Linked DNA regions of Homo sapiens: regions 2 and 3 are each linked to region 1. Evidence: promoter capture Hi-C in human tissues and cell types (Jung and others, 2019). All regions are on one chromosome and are shown on one strand. The core of a region is centred on a gene start or on the middle of the fragment in contact, and the rest is flanking DNA. Distances in the headings are between cores, read along the strand shown.

Region 1 (5,152 bases), core at 2,265-4,764:
CTCCACTTCCCCTTCAATGTCCCTCCGTGGGGCCGTCGGCCTGCCGCGGCGGCCCTCTCTCCACTCCCGTGGGCTCAGGGGAAGAGGGCACCCGGGCGGCGAGGATGACCTCCGAAGAGCCGCGGCAAATTGATTCGTTCCGCCCGGAGCCGGGGCCGCGTGAATGGGGGCCCGGGCGGCGGCGGCAGCGGAGAAGAGGATAAAGATGTTCTCCCTGAAAGGGGGAGGGGGCGCGGAGCGGGAAGCGGGGCCATTCACTCCTGGCCCGGCCCCTCGGGAAGCCGCGCCGAAGAAAGGGGGCCGAGGCCTATTCAAGTCCTACGAGCCGCCCACAATGGACCGATATACTGAGGGCCTCTCTATTAACGCCCATGAATATTAAAGAGATCGCCAAGTGGCGGCCAGCGGGCGAGGGGGGCGACGGAGCCTGAGAGCTCCGGCCCGGCCGAGGGGAGGGGGCTTTTGCGCGAGCACATTCCGCGCCTGGGCCCCGCGGAAAATGACAAAATAACACGGGTCATCCGCTGGGAAAGCCCGGAATGTTTCCCCTCGAAATCTCCTCCCGGGGAGATGTGAGCACAGGGTCTTGCTCCCTATTTCAATGCACCTTGAGACTGGGCGCTACCTACGGGCTCCTTTTTCCCCGGGCGGGGGTCCAGGTGGGTTTTGCCGCTAGACTAGAAGCACAAAATGTGAGCGCGGTGGAGATTTGGGCGCACCAGCTGGGAGGACGTTCTGCGCTCCGCTTCTGCCCGGCTCCCAGTACTGCTCTCCGGGCTTGCGGGTCCGGAGGAGAGGAATGGGACTCCCTGGCCGCAGTCCGAGCCCGTGGTCACTGCGCCAGCGGAATCCAAGCCTCTAACTCTAAGCCGGGGTTCAGGACCCAAACGCTGCACCCCAGCACGGAGGATGCACAGACCTGAGGGCTTCCCGCAGTGGGACGTGGCCCTGGAGAGGGCAAAATCCTCGGGGTTGTCGTGGGGTAAAGTGATCTTACCCAAAGAGAGACCAAGCAAAGAAACCTCAGTTCACAAAGTCCAACTCAAACCATTGCACAGACAGGGACACCGAGGCCCAGAGAGGAAAGGGGCAGTCCACAGGACACACAGCAGTCCTTATCCCCCTTTGGTGTCCTGGAGGAACTGAGGTCGCTTTCGGGGCTTGGGAGCTGCCGCAGCGCTTGGCTCCTGGCAGCGCTCCCCGACGTCGTCTCCCTCGCTCCTAGCACTTTGTCCTCTCCACCTAGGTCTTCCCAGAAGCCAAGAAGTAGGCCCCGGTGAGGCTCCCCTGCAGGAGCCATCGGACTCCATACGCCCCCTCAGACTCGAGCTCTGGCCAGGGAGCCGATGCGACCCACAAGCTGCGTCGAAAAATGAGTGGAGGGTTCGGCGACCCTAACCCACCTCCCTCCTCAGCAGCGCTGCCCTCTGCTGGCGCCCTGCCCAACGGTCCTGCCTTCTGCCAGGTGTGCCCTTCCTTGGGCTCCAGCCTCGGGCGGACCCGGACGCAGGGTCTGAAGGCCAGCTACCGCCGCCTTCCTCCCTTTGCGTCCCAACGGGGACGGGGGATGCCGGAGACTACTGGCAGGAACTGGGGACCAGGGGTCTGGAGTCTGGACGCCAGGTGTGAGACCCTCTTAGCCAAGGCGCGTCCGGGTGGTGGAGGGGCGTCTATGCCAACAGGCGTTTGGACAGGGTCTCGCTCATGGGAGGTCAGCTCGCTGTTCTTCCACCCAAGTCCTCCGCGCTGAGGAGAAGGTCTAGGGAGTCCACACAGTCCAGCGGAGACTAATCCGTGAGCCTGACCCACGCCGAGAGGGTCCAGGCACCTCTGTTAGCGGCATCTGAAATTGTAGGCTGGTGATGGGAGCCAGAAGTGCGGCAGGTGGGGTGAGCTCCCTCACCCAGCATGTCAGGGCCTGGGGTCCGAGGCTTGAGGCTGACACTGGGGAGCCGCGAAGCCTGCAGGAAGCGGGGCCTTCCGCTGGGCTCAGCAGCTACCTGCTTCGGGAGAGGGGATCGCTGGGCTCCGAGGTGCCTCGAAACCGCCGCAAAGCAAGTCTGCTCCTGGGATGATGGGCAGGAGGAATAGAGGAGAGGAAGGGAAAGAAGAGAGAGGCAGAGGAGAAAGAAAGAACTAGGAGGCAAGAAGGAAGGGGCGCCGCAACGCCACCGGCTTCCCGAGGTTGCAGCTCAGCAAGGAGCCGGAAAGCCGGGCCGCAAGCCGAACCCGCACTGAGGCCTCTCGCGGAGCTGCCTGCAGTTTCTGAGGGACTTCGCTCTCAGGCACGCCTGCTCCCACCTAGGAAGGGTCTCGGGACCCCTTTCAATCCCCCTATATCCCGTAGGAAATTCTTTTCCCAGAGACAGGCTGCCAGGGCGATTCCTGTCCGCCCATCTCGACCCCCGACCTGGCCCCGCAAGGGCCGGGAGCCTGGCCTTCCATGAAGCTGTCTCAGGCCGGGACCAGCCCCAGCCCCGACGGCCGCTGCGGCCCCGCCTCGGCAGCCCCGTGAGCCCGCGGAGGAGTTTCGCACCCGACCGTGCACAGCGACCGAGTTGGCGCGGCCCGTATGAAGCGAAGCGCCGGCTTCAGCAGCGCAGTCTGAGCAGGGGATCCGCGTGGCAACTAGGGCTGCGCGCGAGCTCGGGGCGACTGTGGCGGCCCGGGGAGTGCAGGGCCGGAGAGGGAAGAGGACGCGGGCTCTGGCCGGGGAGGGAGAGCGGTGCAGGGCTGGGCCGGCCAGCCGGGGCAGCAAAGTAAAGGTGAACGCCGGGCTGGGCCAGGCCGGTGAACATAGATCAGGCCTGAGGGGAGCGCGGGGCCCGAAGCCAGGCGTCCCCTCTTGTCTAGCCTGGTCCCTGGAGTCCTAGAGAGCCTCGCCGCACCCCCTCCCCTTCTCCGTCCCCTCCTCTCCTCAGAGCCGGCTGAGCCTCCCTCCCTGCCCTGCGCTTCCCACGGGGAGAGAAGGAAAAACAGGAGGGGGGAGGAAGGACCAGGAAGGGGAGAGAGGAGTGGAGGGGTACTGTTTGGAGCGGTCCGCGCGCCCCCGCCCCTCGCGCTCTCGCGACGAAGGCTCCTCGAGCCCAGCCGGGTACAACAAGTCTGTCCTCCGACGTCAGGGGGTCATTAATAACCAATTAGGAGGGTCACTGCGGCTCCTATAAAGGCGCTGAGATTTTGCCAAGGGGAAGACGGCCCCGGCCGAGTGTGCGAGAGGCTAGCGCGCGCCTGAGCCCCTTGCTGCCGCTTCCCTGCAACCACCCGCCTCTCACCCACCCTGCACCCCCCGCACCCGCCTCCGCCTCCACCCGCGTCTCTCCACCCTCCGCGCCGCCTTTGCCATCTCTACAGATTTCACCATCTCTCTTCCCCTCTCCCCCTCGTTCGCTTTCCTCCCAGTCGCCCCCTCACCTCCCGCTCCCTCCTGCGTCCTCCTCCTCTCCGTCCTCCCCCTGCTCTGGTTCCTTCTCCATCGCAGCGCTCTCCTCTCGCCCCTTGGGCTCCCCTCTCGCCCGCCCACCTCCCCCGTCGGCCCGGCCGTCCCCCGGCGCCGGGGAGCTCCGGGCCGCCCATGATGGGCTCCGTGCTCCCGGCTGAGGCCCTGGTGCTCAAGACCGGGCTGAAGGCGCCGGGACTGGCGCTGGCCGAGGTTATCACCTCCGACATCCTGCACAGCTTCCTGTACGGCCGCTGGCGCAACGTGCTCGGGGAGCAGCTCTTCGAGGACAAGAGCCACCACGCCAGCCCCAAGACAGCCTTCACCGCCGAGGTGCTGGCGCAGTCCTTCTCCGGCGGTGAGTCCAGCCGTCGGAGCCCGGCGCAATCCCTCCTCCCGGCGACCCCCATTCCCGTCCTGGCGATGCGCGAGACGCGGCTGGGATACCCGGCCTCGCTGCTACTCGCGCCAACCTGGGCTCTCCCGGCGCTCGGTGCACCTCAGTTTCCCCATGGGCCAAACCAGGACGCGAGCCACCAAGCAGCTCCGCAGCCCACCCGGCTCAAGGACCGACCCCGGCGACCCCGTCGCTCGGCCCCGACGCCCCCGCCGGCCCCTCCCTTCCCCTCCTGCGCTTGAGCTGGCGGGTTCCCGGCATTTACAGCCTTACTAGGCGTGTAATAGCAGTTGACTCAAAAAGAAGGGGTTTTAAATTCATTTAGTTAACTTGGGCTTGACCCACGAAAGTTCCCACTTAAACCAAGAACTTTAAAAGGCAGCCGGGGCTGGGGAGGGGGTGGAGGGAGGGCGGGCGGGGAGAAAAAGCCGCGGGGAGAGCGAGGGAGAGAAAGAGAGAGCGAGAAAAGTTTCTTTTCTTTAAGATGTCTCAAGTTCTTATTCCTCATTCATCAACCCGCAAACAATATCTTTCCCTGGCTCTGGCATCTCTGCGCGTCGCCCTCTTTTCCCCCTTTACGATTTCTGTTCCTCTCTTAATTTACCGTGAAGACTAATTCCACTTCCATTCACGCTATGTCAACCATCTAATCCCCCTTTTTTGTAAGGGGAATTCCTCGGCCCCTTTTAAACAAGTCCCCTCCGCATTGAGCTACAATTTACTGCTACAGCATTCTTCCAGGGCTAATGAATTTAGAATTAGCAATTTCTTTCGAATGGAGCCGAATGAATGCGATCACTTTAACAGCGTGACAAATTGCCCGCCGCGCCGCAATGGACACCGTTTAACCCCCCCCTTTCAGCCGGCCCGCTCGCCGGGTATTTTCCCAGGTAGCTTAGAGGGGAACCTTGTAAGACATGGAGGCCGCCCTTGTGCGCCTCGCCGCTTCCAGCCCTGCCGCAGATGCCCGACAGGGGAACCCTCGGGGAGCTGGGGGCCGCCGCGGCTCCTCCCCGCCCAGAGAGATGACATCGGGGTTTGTCTGAGCCCGGGCGCCGCCCTCCCTGGCACCCCAGGGCCTGGGAGCAGAGAGGGACTCGGGCGCGCCCGGGGTCACACAGCGAGCGCAGAGCCTGGCCAGCTGCTGCCGGTGCTTCTTTGGCACCTCCAACACCTGCCAGCCCGAGGTCTGTCCCCAGCGCTGATCACGGCCCGGCTCCTCTGCCAGTGCCCAGAGCCTGGACACACAGTGGGCTCCCGGAAGCCGACTAGGCGAAAGAGTCTCCGGTTGGCCTTCACCTCCTTGCAGGACCTGG
Region 2 (5,152 bases), core at 1,283-3,782, 40 kb before region 1:
GGCCAATGTGGTGAAACCCTGTCTCTACTAAAAATACAAAAATTAGCCGGGTGTGGTGACGCGTGCCTGTAGTCCCAGCTACTCGGGAGGCTGAGGCAGGAGAATGGCGTGAACCTGGGAGGCGGTGCTTGCAGTGAGCGTAGATGGTGCCACTGTACTCCAGCCTGGGCGACAGAGCAAGACTCTGTCTCAAAAAAAAAGAAAAAAAAAAGAACGCAGTTCAACCACAGTATTATTCCTAAAAGGGAAAAATGTCCTTTATTATATCATTTCCAGGAATGCACTATAATAAAAACTAAGTTGCGTGTTAAAAAAAAATGTGTCCTGGGCCGGGCGTGGTGGCTCGCGCCCATAATCCCAGCACTTTGGGAGGCTAAGACAGGCAGATCACTTGAGGTCAGGAATTCAAGACCAGCCTGGCCAACATGGTGAAACCCCATCTCTACTAAAAAATACAAAAATAAACTGGGCATGGTGGCGGGTGCCTGTAATCCTAGCTACTCAGGAGGCTGAGGCAGGGAGAACTGCTTGAACCTCAGGGGTGGAGGTTGCAGTGAGCCAAGATCGTGCCACTGCAGGCTGGGCAACAGAGCGAGACTCCATCTCCAAAAAAAAAAAAAAAAAAAAAAGTGTCCTGGCCAGACACAGTGGCTCACGCCTGTAATCCCAGCCCTTTGGGAGGCCGAGGTGGGCGGATCACCTGAGGTCTGGAGTTCAAGACCAGCCTGGCCAGCAAGGTGAAATCTCATCTGTACTAAAAATACAAAAATTCGCCGAGCATAGTTGCCTGTGCCTGTTTTCTCAGCTACTTAGAGGCTGAGGTGGGAGAATCATTGGAACCCGGGAGGCAGAGGCTGCAGTGAGCTGAGATTGTGCCACTGCACTCCAGCCTGGGCAACAGAGCGAGACTCAGTCTCAAAAAAAAAAAAAAAGTGCCCTTTAAAAAGACAGGTTTGTGAAAAGTTCTGATGTGGTTTGGTTTCTCTGTGCCTAGGTATCTGTGCCTAGGTTTGCTGTGGGGATTGTAATAGGAAGAAACGGGGAAATGATCAAAAAGATCCAGAATGATGCTGGTGTGAGGATTCAGTTTAAACCAGGTGGGTATGATGATTTAAAAATCCTTAGTGTTAAAAAAAAAAAAAAATCCTTAGTGTTAAAAGGATGATAAAACACCTTACAAAACAAGGGCTTGGCTATTGGTTCATGTGTATTCACCTTTCTCATCCTTGCAACATCCTGCTACCAGATGACCAATCTCAGTTTCTTCTCCCAGCCTTCTTTTCCCTCCCCGGATACATGTCGGTCACCTTTGATTTCCAGGCCTTTTTTCTTTTTTCTTCCTGGAGTATATGCATAGTATGTCATAAATGCATAGTATGTCAGCTTCTGATTTTGCCAAGTAAAATTTTAAAATATATATGTATAATTTTGATTTTATTAAATTGGAGATAATTTAAAACCACACACAAAGACAAAACATCTTAGAATAAAGGACAAATTTTTAAATTTTATAAATTTGCCTTAATGAGCAAAATTTTCGACGTGGTCTGAAAAGAGGAAAACATGGCAGGCTCTTCTCTGGAAGCTGTTGCCATAGCTCTGCTCTGACTCCCTTGGCTTTTTTAAAGTCAAGCTTTGTTTTAGTTCTTTAATGATACATTTTTTAAATGGCTATAATTGCATAAGAATTGAGCATTGACCTGAAACATGCAAAACAATATAATGACACACATTTTCCTATCACCCACATCACTCCAAAAGAGTCCCTGCAGCTGGCAGTATTCCTGTTGCCCCTTTTGGCACCGCGGGTGAGAATATTGATTGGGAATCAGATTAATCCTTGTTTCCTTCTAACGTTGGGCTTTTTTCTAATCCTGTCTCTCACCTGGCTCCTCAGATGATGGGATTAGTCCAGAAAGAGCTGCCCAGGTCATGGGCCCTCCGGATCGGTGTCAGCATGCAGCGCATATCATCAGCGAGCTGATTCTTACAGCCCAGGTGGGTCCAGCTCTGCAGAGTGTGAGTGTTTGGGCTGCAGAAGTGGAAAGTGCTACCCGGGGCTCTCGGTGCAGCACCATAGAGCTGTCACCCTGAGGCGTCTCAAGTCACATTATGGGAAACCAGCAGTTTCTCTACATCAGCCTCTTTCCTGCCTTCTTGGTATTTTTTTCTGCTCATTAATTATTCTGCCTTTATTTACCTCACCATCTAGATTGCCTTTACACAGTAAGTTTCTGGCTATTTAAACCATGTGGGGAAATACCATGGAGATTGGTCGCCAAGTTTCAAATAATCAAGTGTATTTAATGTTAATCTGTGTTAGTGAAATCCAGTCTTAGTGGTAGAAGACACTTCAGGGTCCTCCAAAGTCCTAAAGCTGCCTTCATGCACTTGATTTCATGCACATCTTTGGACTGTGAGCCAGCCTGTGTGACAGTGCTAGGAACCCCTATAACTGATGGTAGGACTGAGGATACATTTGAGAATGACCAGAACGGAAGAATAAAGCAAGAGATTGGAAATTATAGTCCCAGCTCTGCCATCAGTCATGTGACCTTGGAGCTGCCTTTGAACCTCTGGGTCTGGTGTTCCCAGCAGCAGACTCAGGGTGCTTTGCACCAGGCAGTGCTCTCTATGTGATCCCCTAAGAGCCATCTGGTGGTTCTTACTCAAATTACAAATGTGTAGGCCCCCACCCCAGATCTACTGAATCAGCATTTCCAAGGGAGGGTCTTGGGTCTTCACTAGAGACCCAGGCAATTCTTAAGATTAGACAAGTTTATAAAACGGCCACTAAATCAAGCTCGTTCAGCCTGTGGGCTGCACGCAGCCCAGGAACAGCATTGAATGCAGCCCAACACAAATTCATAAACTTTCTTAAAATGTTACAAGATTTTGTGTGTGTGTGTGTGTGTGTGTGTGTGTGTGTGTGTGTGTGTTTTTAAGCTCATCAGCTATCATTAATGTTAGTGTATTTTATGGGTGGCCCAAGACAGTTCTTCCAGTGTGGCCCAGGGAAGCCAAAAGATTGAACACCCCTGCTCTAAATGATCTCTAACATCCTTTTTTTGTAGCAAGAGTTTATGAACCTTGGCCAGGCACGGTGGCTCACTCTTGTACCCAGCATTTTGGGAGGCCGAGGCAAGCGGATCACCTGAGGTCAGGAGTTCGAGACCAGCCTGACCAACATGGTGAAACCCTGTCTCTGCTGAAAATACAAAATTAGCTGGACGTGGTGGCTCACGCCTGTAATCCTAGCACTTTGGGATGCCAAGGCAGGTGGATCACCTGAGGTCAGGAGTTCAAGACCAACATGGTGAGACCCGTCCCTACTAAAAATACAAAATTAGCCGGGCGTGGTGGCGCATGCCTATAGTTTCAGCTACTCAGGAGGCTGAGGCAGGAGAATTGCTTAAACCCAGGAAGCGGAGGTTGCAGTGAGCCAGGATCCTGCCATTGCATTCCCGCCTGGGCAACAAGAGCAAAACTCTGTCTCAAAAAAAGTTTATGAACCTTGCACTGCAGAGGCTGCGAGATGTTTGGGAGAAAACCTTTTCTTCGAGATCTGTGGCATACCCAGAAAGTTGACTGTGCGCTCCTGTGCGTGTGTGAACATCCATTCTAAAATTGCCTTGTTTACTTGGCAGTTGTCTCATAAGAGCAGAGTGCGGGGGAAAAGCACTCCAATTGTCTCAGCTTTCTGCTGGTTTAGATTCTGGGTAAACGTTCACTTTACTCTTAATCAACATGAGCAGGTTTTGCCCAACATTTCTTCATGTGTTGAAAAGTCTGTGCAGCTTCTCCCTTCCATGAAATAGCTCTTAGCTTGACCAGGTTCACCCTCCACATTTAAGAGAGTTTAAATACTGCAGCTCCAAAATGACTCCGCGGACAGCGGCTGGAATGAGACTTGCTGCTGTCTCAATGAAAGGGCTCTTCCTCTGTCCGCTGTTAGATTTAGGTTTTTCTCTCTGCTGGGTGAACAGTGGGAGAATGCCTCAGAGACTTCTCCAGCCCCACATGGGGAGGAGGCCTTGGCAGGTTCCCTCTGTTCCTCCCTTCTGAAGTATCCCTGAATGGTCACTCTTGAACCTGTTACTGCTGCTGCTGCTTGGGGGCACAACAGCCAAGAAGTTTTCTAAAACTGAGTAAAATCCGTTTATCCTTCTTGCTGACTGGAGTGCCAGGTGTTGTGACTCATAGCAGTGCCTGGTTGGGGAGGGTCAGCAGGCTGTGCATATCTGACTTCCCATAGGCCCAGTATGTGTCCGCCGCAGGAAAGAGGGGCCTCAGCTGCAAGGGAGAAAGCAGTTCTTGATGCCTGTAGATCGGGGCCCAGTGAGGAAAGCTCCAGGGAGAAAGGCCGCTGGGCTTCAGCCTTGGAGTTTGTGTCTGCCTATTTCTGTTGGATACATTTGAGCTGTTTATGTAACCACGTGTGTTCGTCTGCACAGGTCCTCCCCAGATACACCTGTGATCGGTGTTAATTCTGGCTTGAAAGAGCCCTTCAGAATGGGAAGTGTGGAAAGGTGCTAGGTTCTGATGGGTGGCATTGATTACATCCTGTCACTTAACCTCCTCCCTGGAAAAGAGAGGAGCAGTGGTGCTGTGGCAGTGGCAGAGGTCGCTACAGCCCTGTGATCTTTCCAGGAAAGAGACGGCTTTGGAGGCCTGGCAGCAGCCAGAGGAAGAGGTCGTGGCCGTGGCGACTGGAGCGTGGGAGCCCCTGGTGGCGTCCAGGAGATAACATACACGGTGCCAGCCGATAAGTGTGGCCTCGTCATAGGCAAAGGTAAGAGGCAGCTGGGGTTTCACATCCCCCCTCAGCTGTTTGGCTTGAGGGAAGGCAGGTCACGGGACCTCCAGAACCTTTGGTGAGGTCCCTTTGCTGCTGCAGGCTGGGGCTGCCCGGTCTGGAGGCAGTAGCCACCTTCTGCCGAAACCCTGCTTGGCATGGTTCTCTGAGGCTGCTGACGGGCCTGTTGTGAGGAGCAAAGTGTATTATTTCTGGTGAGTATGAAGAGACAGCAGTAAAACTCCCTGCCTGTTGAGGGCAGCTTAGCTTGGTGAAAAGATACCTTGCGCAAGATGGGGGGCATTTGTCAATCGACTGATTGGTAATTAACTCACCTCCAAGGAACTTAGAGGGACG
Region 3 (5,152 bases), core at 1,218-3,717, 33 kb after region 1:
GTATTCCCTTTCTTGCAGCATCAGGTTGTACAACCAGGCTTTTCCTGCCCCCTCCTTATCCCCCACCCCACCCCTGCCTGCCCTGTCATGCTGTAAGTCTGAGGTTTTGACCATGACTGTAGGTGGGGTGGTGCAGATCAGTGCAGGCTTCAGAGGTTTCCCCATGTTATGTCACCACTCCAAGCCTTGGTTACCTCCTCTGCAAAGTGAGTATAATAGCATGGCCTACTTCATAGGATTTTCTCTTTTTTTTTTTTTTTTTTTTTCCGAGATGGAGTCTTACTCTGTTGCCGAGGCTGGAGTGCAGTGGCGTGATCTCGGCTCACTACAACCTTCGCCTCCCGGGTTCAAACAATTCTCCTTCTTCAGCCTCCCGAGTAGCTGGGATTACAGGCGCCCTCCACCACGCCTGGCTAATTTTTTTCGATTTTTAGTAGAGACAGGGTTTCACCATGTTGGCCAGGCTGGTCTCGAACTGCTGACCTCTGATGATTTCCCCCCACTTGGCCTCCCAAAGTGCTGGGATTACAGGCGTGAGCCACTGTGCCTGGCCTAGGATTTTCTTTAGAATTCAGTGAGATGGTGCCTGTAAAGTATTTAGCACAGAGCCTGATACCTAGAAGCATTCAATGAAGGTTAGCCCCAGAAAGCAAGCCAGTGGGGTTGGAACAGAGTGAGTGAGGGGGAGAGAAGGGGCAGATGTAAGCAGAGAGCTGAGGTGGGCGGGCGTGGGCCTGCCTTGTAGCCAGAGTAAGCATTTTGGCTTCTACTTTGTGTAATCTGGGAAGCACTGGAAGGGGTGGAGCAGAGGAGGGACTTGATCTGGACTTAAGCTCACTCTGGCTGCTGATGGGAGATTGAAGGGGGATAGGGCAAGCTTAGGGAGGTGGATTAGGGACCATACTCATGATCTGAAGTGATGGTGGCTTCAACTAAGGTGGGAGCAGTGGAAGGTGGAGGAGTGATTGGAATCTACACAGATTTTATTTTCCGAGTGTTTTTTTAAAATCATGAAAAGCTGTTGGGTTTTGTATTCTTTGGGCTTTACTGTGCATAGGACCCCGTCAACTGTGAATAGAAATAAGTTTACTTCTTCCTTTCCAATTTGGATGCCTTTTATTTCCTGCATATGTTTTAAGGGTAGAGCCAACAGGTTTTGCTACTGGACTTGTCCTGGAGCGTGAGAGAGAGAGAGGAATCAAGGAACTCTCCGAGGTTTTTGGCCTGAGCAACTGAGGGGATGGAGTCACCGTTGACTGAGATGGGGACAACTCATCCCCTATCTCGGTTTGCTATGGAGGACTGGAGGGGGCTGCGGGAAAGCTTAGTTTTGTGCTTGATACATTTGAAAATGCCTGTTAGTCATCTAGATGGCAGAGTTGGGTAGCTAGCAGTTGAGTAGGATTTGGAATTCAGGAGAGTGGCACAGTCACAGCACAGAGTGGTGTTTTAAAGGTATTAGATTGAGTGGCCGAAAAGTGAAGAGGTCTAAGGACTTAGCCTCAGCACTGAGTACGTCTCATTAGAATCGCGGGTAAGGAACTAGCAAAGGGGCTTGAGAGGAGCAGGCAGTGAGTAAGTGGAGGAGACGTGAGCAGACTTGTGTGGTTGGAGTCCTGGCTCAGATTTCCTTTCTCTTCCTTTGGCTGGTGCAGAACTCATCCATGTGCCACAGGAAAATAGTCCGTGTTTTTCATTGTCGTGTAATCGAACAAAATAGGGTTTTTGGGCTAAATGAACTACTTGGAATGGTGATATGTCTAAGGATAGTTAATGGAGACTTTATACGTGGAGGAATGTTTGAAGTTAGCAGTTTCTGAAAGTAAGTCCAGACAATATAGTTACATGAATTTGCTGAATGTGGCGCCTGTTCCAGGCTTTCACCCTGTTGAACCGACATCTCAAATGGTGTGTGGTCTTGTCAGAAAGTCTGCTCACAGATGGATGAACCCCTTGTGTTTTGTCTTTCAGATACATTGGTGAAGTAGGAGACATCGTAGTGGGACGAATCACAGAGGTAACGTCGATATCAGATTGGTGTTTACAAAGTCGAGGCAGGCTGGCGATTTCATTCATGGGACAGTCATTCCACTTGTAGTTACATGAAAAAGGCATTCATTGCATTTGGCCGTTGTGTGGCTTCTGATGTAAATATGTGGCTTGTTCGATTTCAGATTACTGGTTCATGTTTTTTTTTTTTTGAGATGGAGTCTCGCTCTGTCGCCCAGGCTGGAGTGCAGTGGCATGATCTTGGCTCACTGCAACCTCCACCTCCCAGGTTCAAGCGATTCTCCTGCCTCAGCCTCCCAAGTAGCTGGGATTACAGGCACCCGCCACCACGCCCAGCTAATTTTTGTATTTTTAGTAGAGATGGGGTTTCATTATATTGGTCAGGCTGGTCTCAAACTCCTGACCTCAAGTGATCCACCAGCTTCGGCCTCCCAAAGTGCTGGGATTACAGGCGTGAGCCACCACATCTGGCCTTACTGGTTATTTATGATATGACACATGAACATGGAGCATGTGTCCAGGTGTGGAACTTGGCTTATAGGTTCAACAGAAGAGGTGGAAGGTGGAGACCAACTCCAGGCTGGATTCGGTCTTGCTGCTCTCGTCCATGAACCTTCCTGGAGGAGAGCTGGTAAGGGCTACAGCTGGGGCCATGGACTAGGGCCCAGTGGGCTGGGGGGAGCCGTGGGACCCTTTGTTCCACCAGAGGACTTTGATTTACACTGAGGTTGCCCCTTTGACTCCTGTTTGTCTGCTGTGAAGTTTGCTGCCTAGATGTGTATGTAGACTTTTCACCCTGTCCAGGTCTCCCGAAAGAGGGAGCAGTTGGCATATGGTAGGATCAGAAACATCCATGGGGTGGGATCCCAACAGAGAGTTGGGGAGAGAAGCCCTTAGATGCTGGTTGTTAACAGTTTTCCTTTTTGGATATAACAGCCTTGCATAGTGAAGATGTTCCTTGAAAAGTTGTCTTTACATTAGGTTTTTGTGAATTGAAAGGCATTTCATTCAACCATGTGTGGAATGTGGTTGCTGGCATTCCAGACAACCACAGTAACTAAGCCACAGCCTTTTGTAAAATGCCATGGTTCACCTTGATCTTCAGTCCAGCGTGTATTTACAGAGAGGCTTACTGTGCCAAGCTCTGTGCCGAGTGCCAAGCACGATTGAGTTCCCCAGCAGGGGATATAAGATAACTGACCTAGTCCCTGGCAGTAGAAGAATAAATAAGCTGTGGTTATACAAAAGGAAATTTCAGTGAGAGAAGCTTGTAGGAAAGACAGGCATTGGAGTTGATCCTGGAAGGATGGAGAGACTTTGAATGACTAGTTCAGGGAATCTGAGATAAAGGGAAATGTATGAGCAGAGATATATCCAAGCAGGAGTTAGTCTGGTCCTGCTGGACCACAGAGGGCTGTCATGGAAGATGACTATGGAAATGTTGGCTAGGTGAGATTGGGAGGGGTCTGAATGTTCCTCAGAGAAGGGAGGGAAAGAGGAAGAGGAGCTGTGGAAAAGTCTTTTGAGATGGAAAGTCGTGATTATCACTGATTCCCCTCAAGTGGCTTGGGTTACCTACTCTTGCTATAGTTCTCAGTGCTTGAATATTGTGGTTGGCCTCAAACATCTCAAAAGGAAGTGAAAGAGAAGTGATGGAGACCTTTCTGAGGATCTGGCTTAAGTAATGTCATTTCTTTGTGTATTTCAGAGGAGAAGATCTGCAGAAGATGAGCTTGCAATGAGAGGTTTCTTACAGGAAGGGGACCTTATCAGTGTATCCTGCGCTTTGCACTCCAGCCTCTTGATGCTTTTCTGTGGGACTGGGAAATGGGCCTTCCATTGTATGTCTCTGACGGAAGAACCATGTCATCCTTGCAGGGATCCGAGTCTTAGACCAAGTGTCGGGCTCTGCTGCATCCTTTCTCAGTCTCCTTAATTCAGGCTGACTCCCCAGCTCTTGTTGGGACCTGCTGCTAAGTCATTTCTTTGGGTCTTGTAACTTACGGTGGCCTGTGCTTTAGACTAGGCTTTTGTTAATGGTGTTAACTTTTAGCGCAGGGAGTGGAGAAGGTGTTGTTCACGTCAAGATATTAATGACAGGCCGAGTGTGGTGACTCATGCCTGTAATCCCAGCGCTTTGGAAGGCCAAGGAGGGAGGACTGCTTGAGCCTAAGAGTTCAAGACCAGCCTGGGCAACATAGCAAGACCCCCCTCTCTACAAAAAAATTAAAAAAGAATTAGCCGGGCGTGGTGGCACATGCCTGTAGTCCTAGCTACTCAGGAGGCTGGGGCCAGAGGGTTGCTTGAGCCCAGGAGCTCAAGGCTACAGTAAGCTATGATCACACCACTGCATTCCAGCTTGGGTGACAGAACAAGACTCTGTCTCTATTTTATGTTATTTTTTAAATTTTTCTTTTTTTTTAATGACGGAGTCTTGCTCTGTTGCCCAGACTGGAGTGCAGTGGCGCGATCTCGGCTCACTGCAACGTCCGCCTCTTGGATTCAAGCAATTCTGCCTTAGCCTCCCAAATAGCTAGGATTACCGGCGTGCGTCATGCCTGGCTAATTTTTGTATTTTTAGTAGAGACAGGTTTCACCATATTGGCCAGGCTGGTCTCAAACTCCTGACCTCAGGTGATCTGCCCACCTCGGCCTCCCAAAGTGCTGGGATTACGGGCATGAGCCACCATGCCTGGCCTCTGTCTTTATTTTATTTATTTATTTATTTATTTATTTATTTATTTATTTATTTTTTTGAGACGGAGTTTCACTCTTGTTGCCCAGGCTGGAGTGCAATGGTGGGATCTCGGCTCACTGCAACCTCTGCCTCCCGGGTTCAAGCGATTCTCCTGCCTCAGCCTCCTGAGTAGCTGGGATTACAGGCATGCGCCACTATGCCCGACTAATTTTGTACTTTTAGTAGAGACGGGGTTTCTCCATGTTGGTCAGGCTGGTCTAGAACTCCTGACCTCAGGTGATCGACCTGCCTCAGCCTCCCAAAGTGCTGGGATTACAGGTGTGAGCCACCGCACCTGGCCTTCTGTCTGTATTTTTAAAAAAAAGATATTCATGACAACCAAGGGGAGAGGTAAGGTCACAGTGATGTGCTCTGGGTCAAAGATTGTTGAGCCTGGACCATTGG

The links. The method cuts DNA at HindIII sites, captures the fragments that hold promoters and counts their contacts. A contact is called where the count stands out against the background at its distance.
Region 2: a contact is called between a fragment that was not itself captured here and the fragment with the promoter of PRDM12 in region 1, in 1 of the 25 tissues and cell types used here (IMR-90 fibroblasts).
Region 3: a fragment that was not itself captured here is called in contact with the fragment with the promoter of PRDM12 in region 1 in 2 of the 25 tissues and cell types used here (spleen and stomach).

The regions. Positions count from the first base shown.
Region 1 is chr9:130,661,080-130,666,231 of GRCh38, forward strand. It overlaps PRDM12 (PR/SET domain 12), which reads left to right and starts at 3,515. Exons shown (of 5, transcript NM_021619.3): 1 at 3,515-3,797. The coding sequence starts at 3,575. RefSeq lists enhancers at 1,957-2,798, 4,089-4,762. The HindIII fragment of the contact is 18,845 bases long and covers 1-5,152 here.
Region 2 is chr9:130,621,714-130,626,865 of GRCh38, forward strand. FUBP3 (far upstream element binding protein 3) reads left to right here. Exons shown (of 19, transcript NM_003934.2): 10 at 995-1,097; 11 at 1,898-1,998; 12 at 4,651-4,792. MIR6856 (microRNA 6856) reads left to right here and starts at 4,584; the gene lies at 4,584-4,650. The HindIII fragment of the contact is 4,458 bases long and covers 304-4,761 here.
Region 3 is chr9:130,695,611-130,700,762 of GRCh38, forward strand. EXOSC2 (exosome component 2) reads left to right here. Exons shown (of 9, transcript NM_014285.7): 3 at 1,972-2,017; 4 at 2,552-2,641; 5 at 3,719-3,784. Among named protein-coding and RNA genes, the nearest start is that of EXOSC2, 4.4 kb to the left of the region's middle. RefSeq lists an enhancer at 3,613-3,722. The HindIII fragment of the contact is 4,089 bases long and covers 424-4,512 here.